Regions from separate parts of the Homo sapiens genome. Here all the other regions are linked to region 1. Evidence: promoter capture Hi-C in 16 types of primary human blood cells and fetal thymus (Javierre and others, 2016). All regions are on one chromosome and are shown on one strand. The core of a region is centred on a gene start or on the middle of the fragment in contact, and the rest is flanking DNA. Distances in the headings are between cores, read along the strand shown. Region 1 holds the start of TMEM158 (transmembrane protein 158). Region 2 overlaps LARS2 (leucyl-tRNA synthetase 2, mitochondrial). Region 3 overlaps LOC124906233 (a long non-coding RNA gene). Region 4 overlaps LARS2 (leucyl-tRNA synthetase 2, mitochondrial).

Region 1 (3,585 bases), core at 53-2,552:
CACTGGGTTGGGAGTATTATCACAGCAGCCCTGTGAGGAGGTACCACCCACCCCCCAACTCAGATGGGGAAACCAAGGCTAAGTCAGAATAATGGCTTGCTTAGATGGCAAGAGGTGGAATAAGTTGGGGAGCTTTATTTTGAGGCGTTTTTGCAACTTTCTCAGTCCCATTTTACTCATTGTTAGAAAACAATGGACAAAAGCTTCCAGAAAAGTAATCAGCCAGGATGCCTAGCAATGTAGCTGGACTCTTGGCAGACCTCTCAGGATTAGCTGGTTTAGAAGGAAGGCGGTTTTGTTGAGGCCTTTCTCTGCTCCCTCCACCCCTCCCCTCTCCGAATCAGGAATACTTGGTGCTCATGGAGTACAAGGGCTTCCAACTAAAATAAAATAGATAATAATTCAACATAAATGTCCCCTAAAGAACGATGGGAATGATGAAGGGTCGTTGAAGTTTGTTTCCAAGTGTGAGGGGCCGAACTACTAAGAAAGTGCTTTTCAATATAAATGTGATAAATCTGATCTCTTGACACGTTATTCTTGGTAGCCCTCCTCCCGTATAATATCCCAAAGGGGATGAACTGCCCCTTTGACGTGGGTTCTAACCTACAACTGTTTCATGAACACGCGCTCACTCGACCTGTCAGGACCTGTGTCCTCGGGACCCCCAGGCGGCACAGCTTCAGGGCTCACATTCCCCCCAGCCAGTCACTCTCCACTCGAAACTCCACAGAGTTCTTGGAATTTTCCTCGCTTGCTGCGAGGAGAATCCCAAGTGAGTCTGCTGTGTTGGAGCCATTAAAAAGCAGCCAAACTCTACAGATTTGAGGTAAGAGACACCGTAAAAAGGCAGAAAGAGCTAGTGGCGCGGACTTGTTTCTGGCTCATGAGTTGGCCTAGCGAGGCCCTTTCCCCTCTCTCGACCTCAGTTTCCCCTTCTGTAAAACAAAGGAGGTTCGGTAGCACTAAGGCGAGACAGCGAAGCTCCCCTCAGGCCTGACAAAAGGATGGTCTCCGGGCCCTGGAGCCTCCCTCTGAGAACGCGATTCACCCGGAGCGCGGGGGCGCCCGGGCGCGTCCGCAGGCTTCCCCGCCCGCCCGCACGCACCCCGGGCGATCCGCTCTCCGCCGCGCCCCCGCACCCAGCCCCGCCCCGGCGATTCCTCTCCCAGCCCCGGCGCGTGGAACCCCGCCCTCCCCTGAGTCCCCGAGCCTGGCGAGCGGAGGGCGGGGCGGGGCGGGGCACGCGGGAGGCGGAGCCGAGCCGGGGAATCCTGCTCTGGGATAGCACCCGGCCCCGCAGAGCAGCGCGGCAGCCCAAGGGCCCCGGCGCCGGGGGCGGCGGGGAACCCCAAACGCAACCGGGTCTGGAGGGATCCCCGCGCCGAGCCAGCCGCCGTCACCGCCTCCGCGCCGCCCCTGCGGGCTTGGCAGGCGCCCGGCGCGCCCGCACTGCGCCCGGCCGCCGGCTCCCGCGGTCCCACCGTGAGCTCGCCGGCCCGTCGCCCGCTCGCCATGCAACCGCCGCCGGCCTCGCGCGCGTAGGCGCCCGCCGCAGGCCATGCTGCCCCTGCTCGCCGCGCTCCTGGCCGCCGCCTGCCCGCTGCCGCCCGTCCGCGGCGGGGCCGCGGACGCGCCCGGCCTCCTCGGGGTGCCCTCCAATGCTTCAGTCAACGCGTCCTCCGCGGACGAGCCCATCGCCCCGCGGCTGCTGGCCTCGGCGGCCCCCGGGCCCCCCGAGCGCCCGGGCCCGGAGGAGGCGGCGGCGGCGGCGGCGCCGTGCAACATCAGCGTGCAGCGGCAGATGCTGAGCTCGCTGCTCGTGCGCTGGGGCCGCCCGCGGGGCTTCCAGTGCGACCTACTGCTCTTCTCCACCAACGCGCACGGCCGCGCTTTCTTCGCCGCCGCCTTCCACCGCGTCGGGCCGCCGCTGCTCATCGAGCACCTGGGGCTGGCGGCGGGCGGCGCGCAGCAGGACCTGCGCCTCTGCGTGGGCTGCGGCTGGGTGCGCGGTCGCCGCACCGGCCGCCTCCGGCCCGCCGCCGCCCCCAGCGCCGCCGCCGCCACCGCCGGGGCGCCCACCGCGCTGCCAGCCTACCCCGCGGCCGAGCCGCCCGGGCCGCTGTGGCTGCAGGGCGAGCCGCTGCATTTCTGCTGCCTAGACTTCAGCCTGGAGGAGCTGCAGGGCGAGCCGGGCTGGCGGCTGAACCGTAAGCCCATTGAGTCCACGCTGGTGGCCTGCTTCATGACCCTGGTCATCGTGGTGTGGAGCGTGGCCGCCCTCATCTGGCCGGTGCCCATCATCGCCGGCTTCCTGCCCAACGGCATGGAACAGCGCCGGACCACCGCCAGCACCACCGCAGCCACCCCCGCCGCAGTGCCCGCAGGGACCACCGCAGCCGCCGCCGCCGCCGCCGCTGCCGCCGCCGCCGCGGCCGTCACTTCGGGGGTGGCGACCAAGTGACCCGCTCCGCTCCTCCCTGTGTCCGTCCTGTGTCCGCGCGCGCGGGTGCCTTTCCCGCCGGAGACTCGGCCGGTGTGCTTCGTGCTGTAGTTATCGTTAGTTCCTCTTCCCGAGATGGGGCCGCCGAGAGACCCCAGCGCCTTTGAAAAGCAAGGTTTGTGCTGCGCTTCCAGTTCCGAAAAGCAGATGTTTAAGCCCTTGGACTGAGGGTGGGATCGCAGCTCCGAAGACGGAGAGGAGGGAAATGGGGCCCTTTCCCCTCTATTGCATCCCCCTGCCCGACTCCTTCCCCGCACCCACGTGCCCTAGATTCATGGCAGAAAATGACCAAATCCTGTGTATTTGTTTTATATATTTAATAACTGTTTTAAATGAAAGTTTTAGTAAAAAAAATACAAAACAAAAAGATTAAATTGCTATTGCTGTAGTAAGAGAAGCTCTTTGTATCTGAACATAGTTGTATTTGAAATTTGTGGTTTTTTAATTTATTTAAAATTGGGGGGAGGGCATGGGAAGGATTTAACACCGATATATTGTTACCGCTGAAAATGAACTTTATGAACCTTTTCCAAGTTGATCTATCCAGTGACGTGGCCTGGTGGGCGTTTCTTCTTGTACTTATGTGGTTTTTTGGCTTTTAATACAGACATTTTCCTCCAGAGATGTGTATGTAGCTTTTTCTTTATTTGATTTGGGAAAGGGAATCCCAGAATTGCAAGACGTTACCCTAAAACCTGAGCAAGGGAATCTCGGAAAAGTTAGAGAAGGGCTACTTCTGTCTCCTTTACCTGGCTGTGAGAGATAGATGGAAACAGTATTATTTGCCCTGATGGCGATTGTCTTGCATCTCACCACACTGACCCTCAGTTCCCATCCACCCCCCACCTGTCACGGTGGCAAACACAGTTTTATATGATTTAACTTTTTGCTCATTGTTCTAAGCTCTGCAAAACACCCAGGCAAGCATCAAAATGGTAAAATCAATAGTTCCTCTGAGCTGGATGGCTTTCACGAAAATGACTCACTTTAAAAGGCATGTAGATTTCTTTTCATATGCATGAACTTTAGCAGATAAGCACATTCCAAAAGCTGGTATTAAAACCTGAGATATTATTTTGGCA
Region 2 (3,624 bases), core at 509-3,008, 220 kb before region 1:
CCAGCTCTGACTTTTTAAATACTATTTAATTTTAATTACTTTAAATTTAAGCAACCACATGTGGCTAGTGGCTATCATCCTGGACAGTTCTAGGCCACACTATGATGCTCTTGCCTCATCTCCCACCATTCCAAGTCTTACCTATCATTATTGAGCTCCCACCATAACAAACACTTTCATTTCTCGGGAGACCACTGTGATAGCTGTTCTTTAACTATTACCTTTAATCTTTCCAAGAACCCTGTGTCTTCCTCCATTTTCTGCTACTGTAATAGAATACCACAGACTGGGTAATTTATTGATAGAAGTTTATTTGGCTGATTCTGGAGGTCAGGAAGTCCAAGAGCATGGTGCCAACATCTGCAAGGGCCTCTGTGCTGCATTATCCCATGGCAGTAAGTAGAACAGCAAGTGACCGTATGACACACACACACAGAGAATTTGGCTGAACTCATCCTTTTATTGGGAGCTCATTCCCACAATAATAACATTAATCCATTTATTAGGACAGGGCTGTCGTGACCCACTCACTTCTTAAAGGTCCCTCTTCTTAAATCCATCACAATGGCAATTAAATTTCAACATGAGTTTTGGAGGGGACATCCAAACCATAGTACCCCACAAGGAAAATGTCCCCATTCCCATTTAGCAGATACAAAACCATGTTTCCTAGAGGTTAAGTTACCCAGATGTTCACATAGCTGGGAGAGGGAGCTGAGCTAGGATTTGAGAAGCCTGTGTTCTTTCTTCTTATGCCCTCTCCTTGATCTCATTACAGGAACCAGACAATAGGTTATGGGGTAAGAATTCAAGGGTAAAAGAAGCCCAGACCCTGTCTTGATGACACTAAACTTAAGTAGGAAGTAGTTACGTTCTGGGTCTGCTGTGACTGATTTTATGAACTTGAGGTAGCGTTCATTTTCGCTGCTACTACAATGATGTATCCTAAAGAGATTCACTGAATTTTAAAAGTCCAGCTAATTTTAACTTACCTCCTTTTGATAGGCCAGCCCAGCCTCATACAGTTTAATAAAGAGATACTGAGTCCACTTGTAGTAATCTGGCAAACACGTAGTTATTTCCTGCCAACAAAGAAGAAAAATAATGTACAGGCCATTATAAACATCCCCCCAGCCATGCATGCTCAGTCTTGCAACTGAATTTTGAAAAGTAATGAAATCACAAAAATATTTACCAGCTCAAAATATTTTCACCAGTTTGTAAAGTAAGGAGAGTCACAATTTATTCTGGAAAGAGATGTTATTGAAATGCCACCTACACCTTTCTGAGAGCATGTTCAATGAGAAACTCAACTTCAAGTCTTTTGCACACCTCCTGCCCACTCATCTATGGCACTAACAAGTGAATTACATTGTACAAAATTGGGTATTAACATTTTTGTCAGCACAAACATACACTGGGGGCCTGATGCTTATTCACAAATGTAGCTCATTTTGAAAGCAATCACAAAATTCATGAGGAATATTTGCCTGCCTCAGTATGATCCTCATTTGAAAATACATCTTGTGTTTCCACATAAAACTGGGGTCTAGTGGCTCCTTTAGACTCGTATATTCCATTTATTCCATTATGTGAATCAGGCTGTTGTTTACTTAGGAAGAACAATTAAAAACATTAAACTTAGTAAGAAACCACTTGGTTTATATTTCCAAGCCTAAATCAAAGGTTCCCCAAATTTACTTTCTGTCCTAAAAACACATTTGTTATAGAATTCTTAAAAACAGAATTTACAGTTGATAAAGTCAAATAAGCATAAAACCTCTATACTGTCACGTTTCTTTTCTAGTGCTCTTTAACTTCAAAAACTAACGCAGAAATGAATGATGGGAGGGAATGTTTCAAATGACTCCGTTTGTAACAGACTTTTTTATTTTTAAGAGACAGAAGTCTTGTTCTGTCACCAAGGTTGAAGTGCAGTGGTGTGATTGTGCCTCACTGTAGTCTCGAACTCCTGGGCTCAAATGACCCTCCCTCCTCAGCCTCCCCAGTAGCTGGGACTACAGGTGTGTGCCACCACGCCTTGTAATAAACTTTTGATAGAAAGCGTACTTTTACCAAAAGTGCAAACAATTCAGTCTTCCTTAAGATGAATAAATGAGACAGCTTCAAACCCGGACTTTGGGTATGTGGTAGGAACTAAGCAAGGTGTCAGGTAAACATCTGTGCCCCCAGTGGGCTATTTTTCTTATGTAAGACTCCTGAGTCCTTTTTTGTGCTGTTTTATAAAAACAGCAGAGTAATAACTATTAGAAAACAATTCTTTTAAAAGGAAAATAACACAACTCTGACTATTGGCTCTACCTTCCCACTTCAAGGCAACTAGTGAACCACCAGCCAGTCAAAGGGCTTTGCCCACATTGTAGCTGTCCACCTAGGCCAGCTTCCACAACACAAGAGCCATAATTTCTGAGCCATGCATACGACGCAGCCTGCTCTGGCTTCCAGCTTCACAGATGTCTACAGGGGTGTCGTGCACAAAGATCTTCACCAACTCAAGAACCTAACCAGCACTCTGCCAATGGGCTTGCTCCCCAAAACCTCCAAATTCATCCTCATCCATCATCTTTTCCTCCACAGCTACCCCTCCAGCTAGCATGGCACAGAACTTGTTTTCCTCAGTTTTCTAGACAAGAAATTTAAAAACTTCCACTGTTAACAAAACCCAGGGCAGGAGCTATGTTTGGTCTATTTCATTTTGCTCATTGTAGTATGCTCAGGTCCTGGCACATTGAGGCACCCAAAATTGTTGTTGAAGGAAGAATAAACTAGATAGAGATATGAACTACTGACATTGAATCAAATTTGATTCCTTCATGTAGGTTTCACCACAAAATTCAAATTATTACACTGTTGTCCCCAAGATGAACTGGGATAGGGGATGTGGGTAAGGGGTGGAGGTAGTATGGTAAAAATATTCCTAGACTTGGTCATTGTGGATATATCTTTTTATTTTTAAAAAATCTTTACCCACTAGAGGTTTAGAAAAGTGTGTGAAATAATTTTGAGAAAATAATGAGAATTGTTAAATCTAAGGGATAGAGGTTCAATATTTTCTTTTCTCAATTTTTCTATTGAGTTGTTCATAATATCAAAATTCTTTTAGTAAATATATAACACATAATATATATTATATATGTAACACATATACAACATATTTTATATATACACACATATATAAAATATACAAATATGTGTTTTTTTCTCTAAGCCGATGAATCTGCTTCCTAGAGTGAGAGTAAAAATTACACAGCAATGAAACAGCATTGTTTTTTTTTTTTTTTTTTTTTTGAGACGGAGTCTCGCTCTGTCGCCCAGGCTGGAGTGCAGTGGCGGGATCTCGGCTCACTGCAAGCTCCGCCTCCCGGGTTCACGCCATTCTCCTGCCTCAGCCTACCAAGTAGCTGGGACTACAGGCGCCCGCCACTACGCCCGGCTAATTTTTTGTATTTTTAGTAGAGATGGGGGTTTCACCGTTTTAGCCGGGATGGTCTCGATCTCCTGACCTCGTGATCCGCCCACCTCGGCCTCCCAAAGTGCTGGGATTACAGGCGTGAGCCACCGCGCCTGGCCGAAACAGCATTTTTTTTTTTCCCCTAGGTTGAT
Region 3 (3,732 bases), core at 510-3,009, 150 kb after region 1:
CACTGCTGACAAGTTAGTGCTGGCTATTGGCTGGGAGCTTTGACTCCTGGTCACTTGGACCACTGCACAGGGCTTCTTCACAACATGGTGGCTGGGTTCCACAACTGAGTGCTCCCAGATTCTAAAGGTCAGAACAGCCAGTCTCTCAGAGGCTGGAACTGGACACTGGCATGACATTACTTCCATTCTATTCCTTTTTTTTTTTTTTTTTTTTTTTTTGAGACAGGTTCTCACTCTCTTGCCCCAGCTGGAGAACTCCTGGGCTTAAAGCGATCCTCCCACTTCAGCCTCCCGAGTAGCTGGGACTACAGCCATGCACTACCATGCCCAGCTAAACTTCCATTCTATTCTATGGGGGGCATTAGTCACAGAACCTACTCCGATTTACATGGAGGAAGCAAAGATTCCCCCACCCCATCTCAGTGGGAGAGGTGTCAAAGAATTTGCAGCCATCTGTAATAGGCTTCAGTGGGGCTGGGGAGATCACAGCCAAGTACCATGCCTGTGGACAGCACTGACCACCTTCACTACTGCGTCCTTGATCACCATGACCACATCTGGGCTGCATCCCACCTCTGACTGCCCCTTCTCCTGGATCCTGTTCCCAGGACTCAAGGTTCAGTCTTTGGTCTTCTGGCCTTTTCTCTCTGGACACTGCCCCATAGGGAGGGTACTGTCTTAGTCCATTTGTGTTGCTATAAAGGGATACATAAGCCTGGGTAATTTATGAAGAAAAGAGGTTTATTTGGCTCATGATTCTGCAGGCTGTACAGGAAGCATGAAACCCAGCATCTGCAACTGATGAGGGCCTCAGGCTACTTCCCCTCATGGCAGAAGACAAAGGGGAGCCTGCATGTGCAGAAATCACATGGTGAGAGAGGAAGGGAGAGAATGGCAGGGGAAGGGGTGGCGCTAGGCTGTTTTCAACAACCAGCTCTTGAGAGAACTAAGAGAGGAAGAACTTGCCGTGGACCCAGGAAAGGCATTAACCTATTCTGAATGGCTATACAAGATTACATCTTCTAAGGTCACTTCACGCTCTAGAATGCTTTGATTCCTCCAGTCACCCAGGCCCAGAATATTGGACCTAACTTCATTTCATCCCTGTCACTCACCCTGATTGTTCTAGATTCTCCTCCCATCCAACATCCCCCTCTATTCCACCATTCCTTTTTCATCATGTGACTCCCTCACTCTGAAATCTGTGCCTCCAGACTTGGTTGGCCCTTAGAACAGAATCCTTGGTCTTTTGCTGGTGGTGTGGCACCTCCAGTCCACTGCCTGGCCCTCCTAACCTCTTCAGACCTCTCTCCGCCCACTTCATCCATGACTTCAAAACTCTATTCCAGTGGGGCTCTGAATCCACTCCTGCCCACACCTTGCTCTTGCCCACACCTTGCTCTTGCCCACACCTTGCTCTTGCCATTGTTCCTGGACAACTCACAGCAAAAGCTGCCCACCTTCCATGCCTTACCAGCACTTCAGAGTCTATCACAGAGCCCATTTTCTCCAGGAAGCCCTCCAACTCTGCTAAGCTCTCCTTCTAAATCCCAATAGTCCTTTTGATTCATAATTCTTCTGCATGTAGCTGTATTAGTTTCATAATTTAAAAAGCTTGTGCTTGTGTGTCTTTTGCTTAACCAAGATGCTACTTTTTTCAGAGGTAGAGGTCCATGTCTTGTACTTAGTCCATCTGTCTCACATTGTCCAATGCAGTGGGTGCCCTAGAAATTATGTCTGTTACATTTAATTGTCAGAAACATGTTGTACTTCAGCTATGACTTCAGGCAGGTGTTATACTGGAGGCTTCCAGATGGCAAGGAGGAAGTAGATGTCAGGCAAGTGCCCTGTGTTTTACAAACCTTATCTCATGTCACCAATTAATATCCTAGCAGCAAAGCTTATTTTCAGCTTACTGGTGAAAGAAGGCCCAGCAAGGTGAAGTCACGAGCCCAGGGTCACAGAGCAGCAAGAGGCAGGGCAGCAACCATACAGCCTTTCCACAGTGCTCTGCTACTCAGCTAGGCCATGAGACTGGGTTCTCCTGGGAGCCACAGTCGGGAGAGTGGCTGCCGAGGAGTCTGGTGGACCCCAGGGCTTCCTAGATAGTGTTTGTCTCTTTTTCTTTCCTTCAGGAGGCCACAAGTTTGAGGTGGAGGAGGTCTCAGGGACACTGAAGCACAATATCTAGTCCTAGGCACAAGATTAAATATTCTAAGGCCACTTCTAACTCTAGAATGCTTTGATTCCTCCAGTCACCCAGGTCCAGAATATTGAACCCAACTTTGGTTCATCCCTGTCACTCATCCTGATTGGCATTTCTGCTTCCACCTATATGCCCTGCCCTTTCTGGACTTTGTGTTGGCAGCTCCTCCCCCAGGTCAGGGATACTTGGGGATCTGATGTTAAAGCCACAGGGCAAAGCACCTATAGCCCTCCAGGCTGCTGCCAAACCTGTCTCCTTTACCCTCGCCCTGCCCTTCAGACCCAGCCTCTCATGGACTTCTGTTCCCCACGGAAGAGGGGAGTCCTGTTCACATCTGTGTGGTCTCTGGGATCATCTCTAATCAGTGCCACATCAAGGCATCCTCAGCCAGTCCTGGGGAGCCTGCAAACGACACCCAACCTCACAGCTCACTGTTCTGTTTGGGCGGTTCACAAGGCTGTTTCTTGGCTTTAAACGTGCTTATGACGAAATGAGAAAGGTGGAACTCAGCCTCCTGCTGGCCAATTCTCTCCTAGCCTCAGGCTTCATAAGAACAATTTTTTTTTTTTTTTGAGACAGAGTCTCGCTCTATTGCCCAGGCTGAAGTGCAGTGGCATGATCTTGGCTCACTGCAACCTCCACCTCCCAGGTTCAAGCGATTCTCATGCCTCAGCCTCCTGAATGGCTGGGATTACAGGTGTGCCCCACCACGCCTGGCTAATTTTTGTATTTTTAGTAGAGGCAGGCTTCACCATGGCCAGGCTCAAACTCCTGACCTCAGGTGAGTCTGCCTGCCTTCACCCAGCAAAGTGCTGGGATTACAGGCATGAGCCCCTGTACCCAGCCTTAAGAACCTCCTAATGATCCCATGAGTTATATGGATGAACCAGCACGGCCTCTTCTCTGCCCTTTAATGTAGGTGTATTAGTCCGTTTTCATGCTGCTGATAAAGACATACCTGAGACTGGGAAGAAAAAGAGGTATAGTTGGACTTGCAGTTCCACATGGCTGGGGAGGCCTCAGAATCATGGTGGAAGGTTAAAGGCACTTCTTACATGGCAGTGGCAACAGAAAAATGATGAAGATGCAAAAGCAGAAACCCCTGACAAAACCATCAGGTCTTGTAAGACTTACTCACTACCATGGGAACAGTATAGGGAAAACTGCCCCCATGATTCAAATTATCTCCCACCAGGTCCCTCCCACAACATGTGGGAATTATGGGAGTACAATTCAAAATGAGATCTAGGTGGGGACACAGAGCCAAACCATATCATCCCACCCCTGGCCCCTCCAAATCTCATGTCCTCACATTTCAAAACCAATCATGCCTTCCCAACAGTCCCCCAAAGTCTTAACTCATTTCAGCATTAACCCAAAAGTCCACAGTCCAAAGTCTCATCTGAGACAAGGCAAGTCTCTTCCACCTATGAGCCTGTAAAATCAAAAGCAAGCTAGTTACTTCCTAGACACAATGGGGGTACAGGTATTGAGTAAATACAGCCATTTCAAATGGGAGAAATTTG
Region 4 (3,305 bases), core at 15-2,514, 240 kb before region 1:
TTTGTTTTATATCTTTCCATCCTACTTATATTGCATCTTCTATTCACTCTAAGACATACATTTTCCCAAAAACTCTGACACTGGGACATGTCTTACAATCAGTGGTATCTTACAATATATTGAGAGCATTTTTCTTTCTTAATGGAGCATTCAATTTAAAACTAATCATGTCAGGATTGATAAAATCTTGTATGTGTGTTTATATATATGCTTTTACATAGTTAAGAGCATGTTGTTAATATACTCTTTTAAAACTACAGAATGTATTTTACCTGAGTTTTCAACTTATTACAGCTCTACTGTCTCTATTTTGAGCAAATCTGACACTTAGAGCTAGCCATCTGGTAGCAGTAAGCAAATACACAGAGAAGTGGAAAGGTGCTGTGGAAAAGTGTCTCTCTGCATAAGAGAATGGTTATTTTGAAAAACACAGTATTGACATGTATGTATCTGTTAATGACTATTTGCTTCCTTCATAGCAGCAGCCATTGGATCGGTCTTTACTGGTCTCTCTGCAGCTGGGCTCAGAAGAACCCAGGGTAAGGACAGAGCACTGGAGTAAATAATGACAAAAGCAAGACAGAGAGGACAATGAGTCAATTCCACCAAGAACAAAACAGAAAACCTCTAATCACCACACTTTCCATTACCTGGCCATTTGTGCCCATTCTGTACTTACTGCATTTCCTATCGCTAATGTGCTGCCTTCCTGCAACACACGCTGACTGGCTATTGTCTGCACATGATTCTCAGAAATACTCAGTTGCTTGGGAACTGTCCCCAAGAGCAGGGGTAAACAATGCAGGTGAAACCCCGTCTCTACTAAAAATACAAAAATTAGCCGGGCATGGTGGCAGGCGCCTGTAATCCCAGCTACTCAGGAGGCTGAAGCAGGAGAATCACTTGAATCTGGGAGGTGGAGGTTGCAGTGAGCCGAGATTGTACCACTGCACTCCAGCCTGGGAGACAGAGTGAGATTCGGTCTCAAATAATAATAATAAAAAAGAAGGCAGGACTGGGACTGAGGAGACCCAAGTTGGGTTCTGGCCCTTCCCTGCTCTTGGCACCTCAATTATATAATAAGATGTGGGCTGGGTCAGCAATTTTCAAGGATGGGACACACACCTCAGGATGGCAATCAGCCCCCTGGGAAGGAGTGAGAAGGACATGATGTGGGCCGCTCAAAATAACGCAACACCTTATTCATTTATTTTAATTTGTTTCCAGACATCATATTGATTTTGCAATTTCAAGCAGCAGTAAATGCAGGCATGAGGGGTTTTCTGTTTATTTGCTTTTATGTTTTTCAGATCAGGGCAGGGATTAAAAAGAGACCCGAGCTAAATGCTCTCTCAAGTTTCTTCTAGCTTTGAAGTTCAAATAACTCTCCAAGCTGAAGAGGTTCATTGGTGACACTCACCAGGCCTGTGCAGCGATCCCTGAGACCCCTCAACAAGAGGCTAAATACATCTCTTCCCATGGAGTCCAGGCTGACACCTCAAGAAGACCTGTACACCCAAGAAACAGGAGCTCAAAAAGGCCACTCAGGGTTCAAAAGGAACACAAAATGCTTTTCTATCTTTATGGTTCCTGATCAAATTTACAATGTATTTCATTGTCCATATACCATAAGAAGTATACTATTAAATTATTTCTTCCATTTTTCCTTTGCAGTCATTCCATCTTGGAAACAAAACATGAAAACCTTTCTCTTTGCAGAGCAGGTTGCTGACCCAGAGACTGCAGAAGTTTTCTTTTATTCTCATACATCTGGAGTACATGTACCAAGCATACCTGTCTTTATTTCCCTGACAGGGACGGACAGTGGAGTGTGCGCAAGAAGTCAGGGCTAAGGGAAATGAGATGATGATAGAGAATTGACCTAATAGAGACTACATACAGATGTGACTAGGCATTGGTGGGGGACATCTGGGAGGTCAGCAGGAAGGCCCTGCATTCAGGGAGGGAAACCTGATGGCCTGTACTGTCTCTGTACCATTTAGAAACACCACTGGTTTCTGAATCCCAGAGCGAAGGCCCAGCCCTGTACCAACCCCTGGAGGACCTTTCCTGGAGGAAGTTCCCTCTCAGGCCTGCTGAGAGCCAGCCAGGTGCCTCCTCCCAGCATCTCGCCTTGGCCCCGGGCTGTTATTAAAGATTTTACTCCCTCTATTCAGGCAGCTTTTTGCTTGCCTGGGAAGTGACAGGGAAAAGCCAGCCTCAAGTTGTCTACTTTTCTGTGGCCTCTGTGCCCTTCCTACCCCTGCCCAGTCCCATCCCTAGAAGGACTTCTGAGGGGCTGGCTCTCCCAGTAACAACTTCCACCTGGTCCCTGTGGCACTGGCCACTCTGGCCAGCAATCATGCTGAGGAGGGCTGAGAGCATAGGATGGAGGATAGAAAAGCAGAGAGTTCAGTTTAGAATAGCTTAGGAGAGAAAAGACGCTGGAGAGGCAGGGAAAACAGAAAACAGAAGCAGGAGATATTATGTAAGAAGGAGCAGAATTTAACTATTAATTAGCTTTGTGAGACAGGGAGTCAAAACCAGATCCCTGGGACTGGGAGCAGAATCTACTGTAGCCAAGAGAAGAGACAGCCCCAGCATGAGGGAGAATCCTGGCAGGGAGGCTGAGGGCTCTGAGGGTGTGGCTCAGCACTGGTCTGAGAATAGGGGTCCAGAGCCGGCATGGGCTCTGGCCTCCTACCCCACAGTATCTAATCATTTTTAAAGTGAGGAGGGATAAAGCCACCCTCAGCCCTGTCTGACCACAGAGGGGCATGGTGGGGATAAATGCAGTAAGAGCTTCGAAGCCACAGAGCTTTTAAGAAAAAGCCCTCATTGTAGATAAACCCAAGCAGCATCATCATCACCAAATCCCAGCCCTGGCCTGGTCCTCAGAGCCCTGCAGAGAAGCTGACAGTTTGCTAAACATTTCTCACTTGCTCCTCTCAGTTCTGTCATTTTGCCTCTTCTGCCAACATCTAATTTGTGCTGCCGCCCCTCCCCCTTAGAAGGCGCAGTATGCACACACAGGAGGAGGAAGTGCTTTGACGCACAAACAGGAGGAGGTGCTTTCTTGAGGTCAGAGGGCAGAGTAGGGTCAAGTTACCAAACTTCTCTAACAATTCCTTTGCAAAGCTTCTAGAGCAACACAGGAGTGACAGGGGTGAAGGGGATTAAGGGGACGATGTGACTGGAGAGGCACTTCCTGGTGCTACCTGTGACCCAGCCTCTGTTCTGGGGCTGAGACAGGATCTGAAGTTACGAGCAGAAAGCCAGGCAAGAGGCCCAATTTCTAGAGGGCA

The links. The method cuts DNA at HindIII sites, captures the fragments that hold promoters and counts their contacts. A CHiCAGO score of 5 or more calls a contact.
Region 2: a fragment that was not itself captured here is called in contact with the fragment with the promoter of TMEM158 in region 1 in 3 of 17 cell types (M1 macrophages, M2 macrophages and M0 macrophages); the score reaches 6.2 in M1 macrophages.
Region 3: a fragment that was not itself captured here is called in contact with the fragment with the promoter of TMEM158 in region 1 in 6 of 17 cell types (naive CD4 T cells, total CD8 T cells, total CD4 T cells and 3 more); the score reaches 6.2 in naive CD4 T cells.
Region 4: a contact is called between a fragment that was not itself captured here and the fragment with the promoter of TMEM158 in region 1, in 4 of 17 cell types (M1 macrophages, M0 macrophages, M2 macrophages and 1 more). The highest score is 13.3, in M1 macrophages.

The regions. Positions count from the first base shown.
Region 1 is chr3:45,224,004-45,227,588 of GRCh38, reverse strand. TMEM158 (transmembrane protein 158) reads left to right here and starts at 1,302. Exons shown (of 1, transcript NM_015444.3): 1 at 1,302-3,123. The coding sequence starts at 1,562. The coding sequence ends at 2,464. RefSeq lists silencers at 1,056-1,395, 1,406-1,475. The HindIII fragment of the contact is 4,918 bases long and covers 206-3,585 here.
Region 2 is chr3:45,444,349-45,447,972 of GRCh38, reverse strand. LARS2 (leucyl-tRNA synthetase 2, mitochondrial) reads right to left here. Exons shown (of 22, transcript NM_015340.4): 7 at 993-1,082. Among named protein-coding and RNA genes, the nearest start is that of LARS2, 58 kb to the right of the region's middle. The HindIII fragment of the contact is 5,856 bases long and covers 1-3,624 here.
Region 3 is chr3:45,078,042-45,081,773 of GRCh38, reverse strand. It overlaps LOC124906233 (a long non-coding RNA gene), which reads right to left. Exons shown (of 3, transcript XR_007095898.1): 2 at 1-121. Among named protein-coding and RNA genes, the nearest start is that of CLEC3B, 54 kb to the right of the region's middle. The HindIII fragment of the contact is 286 bases long and covers 1,617-1,902 here.
Region 4 is chr3:45,464,416-45,467,720 of GRCh38, reverse strand. All of the region lies in intron 8 of LARS2 (leucyl-tRNA synthetase 2, mitochondrial), which reads right to left. Among named protein-coding and RNA genes, the nearest start is that of LARS2-AS1, 43 kb to the left of the region's middle. The HindIII fragment of the contact is 3,752 bases long and covers 1-3,140 here.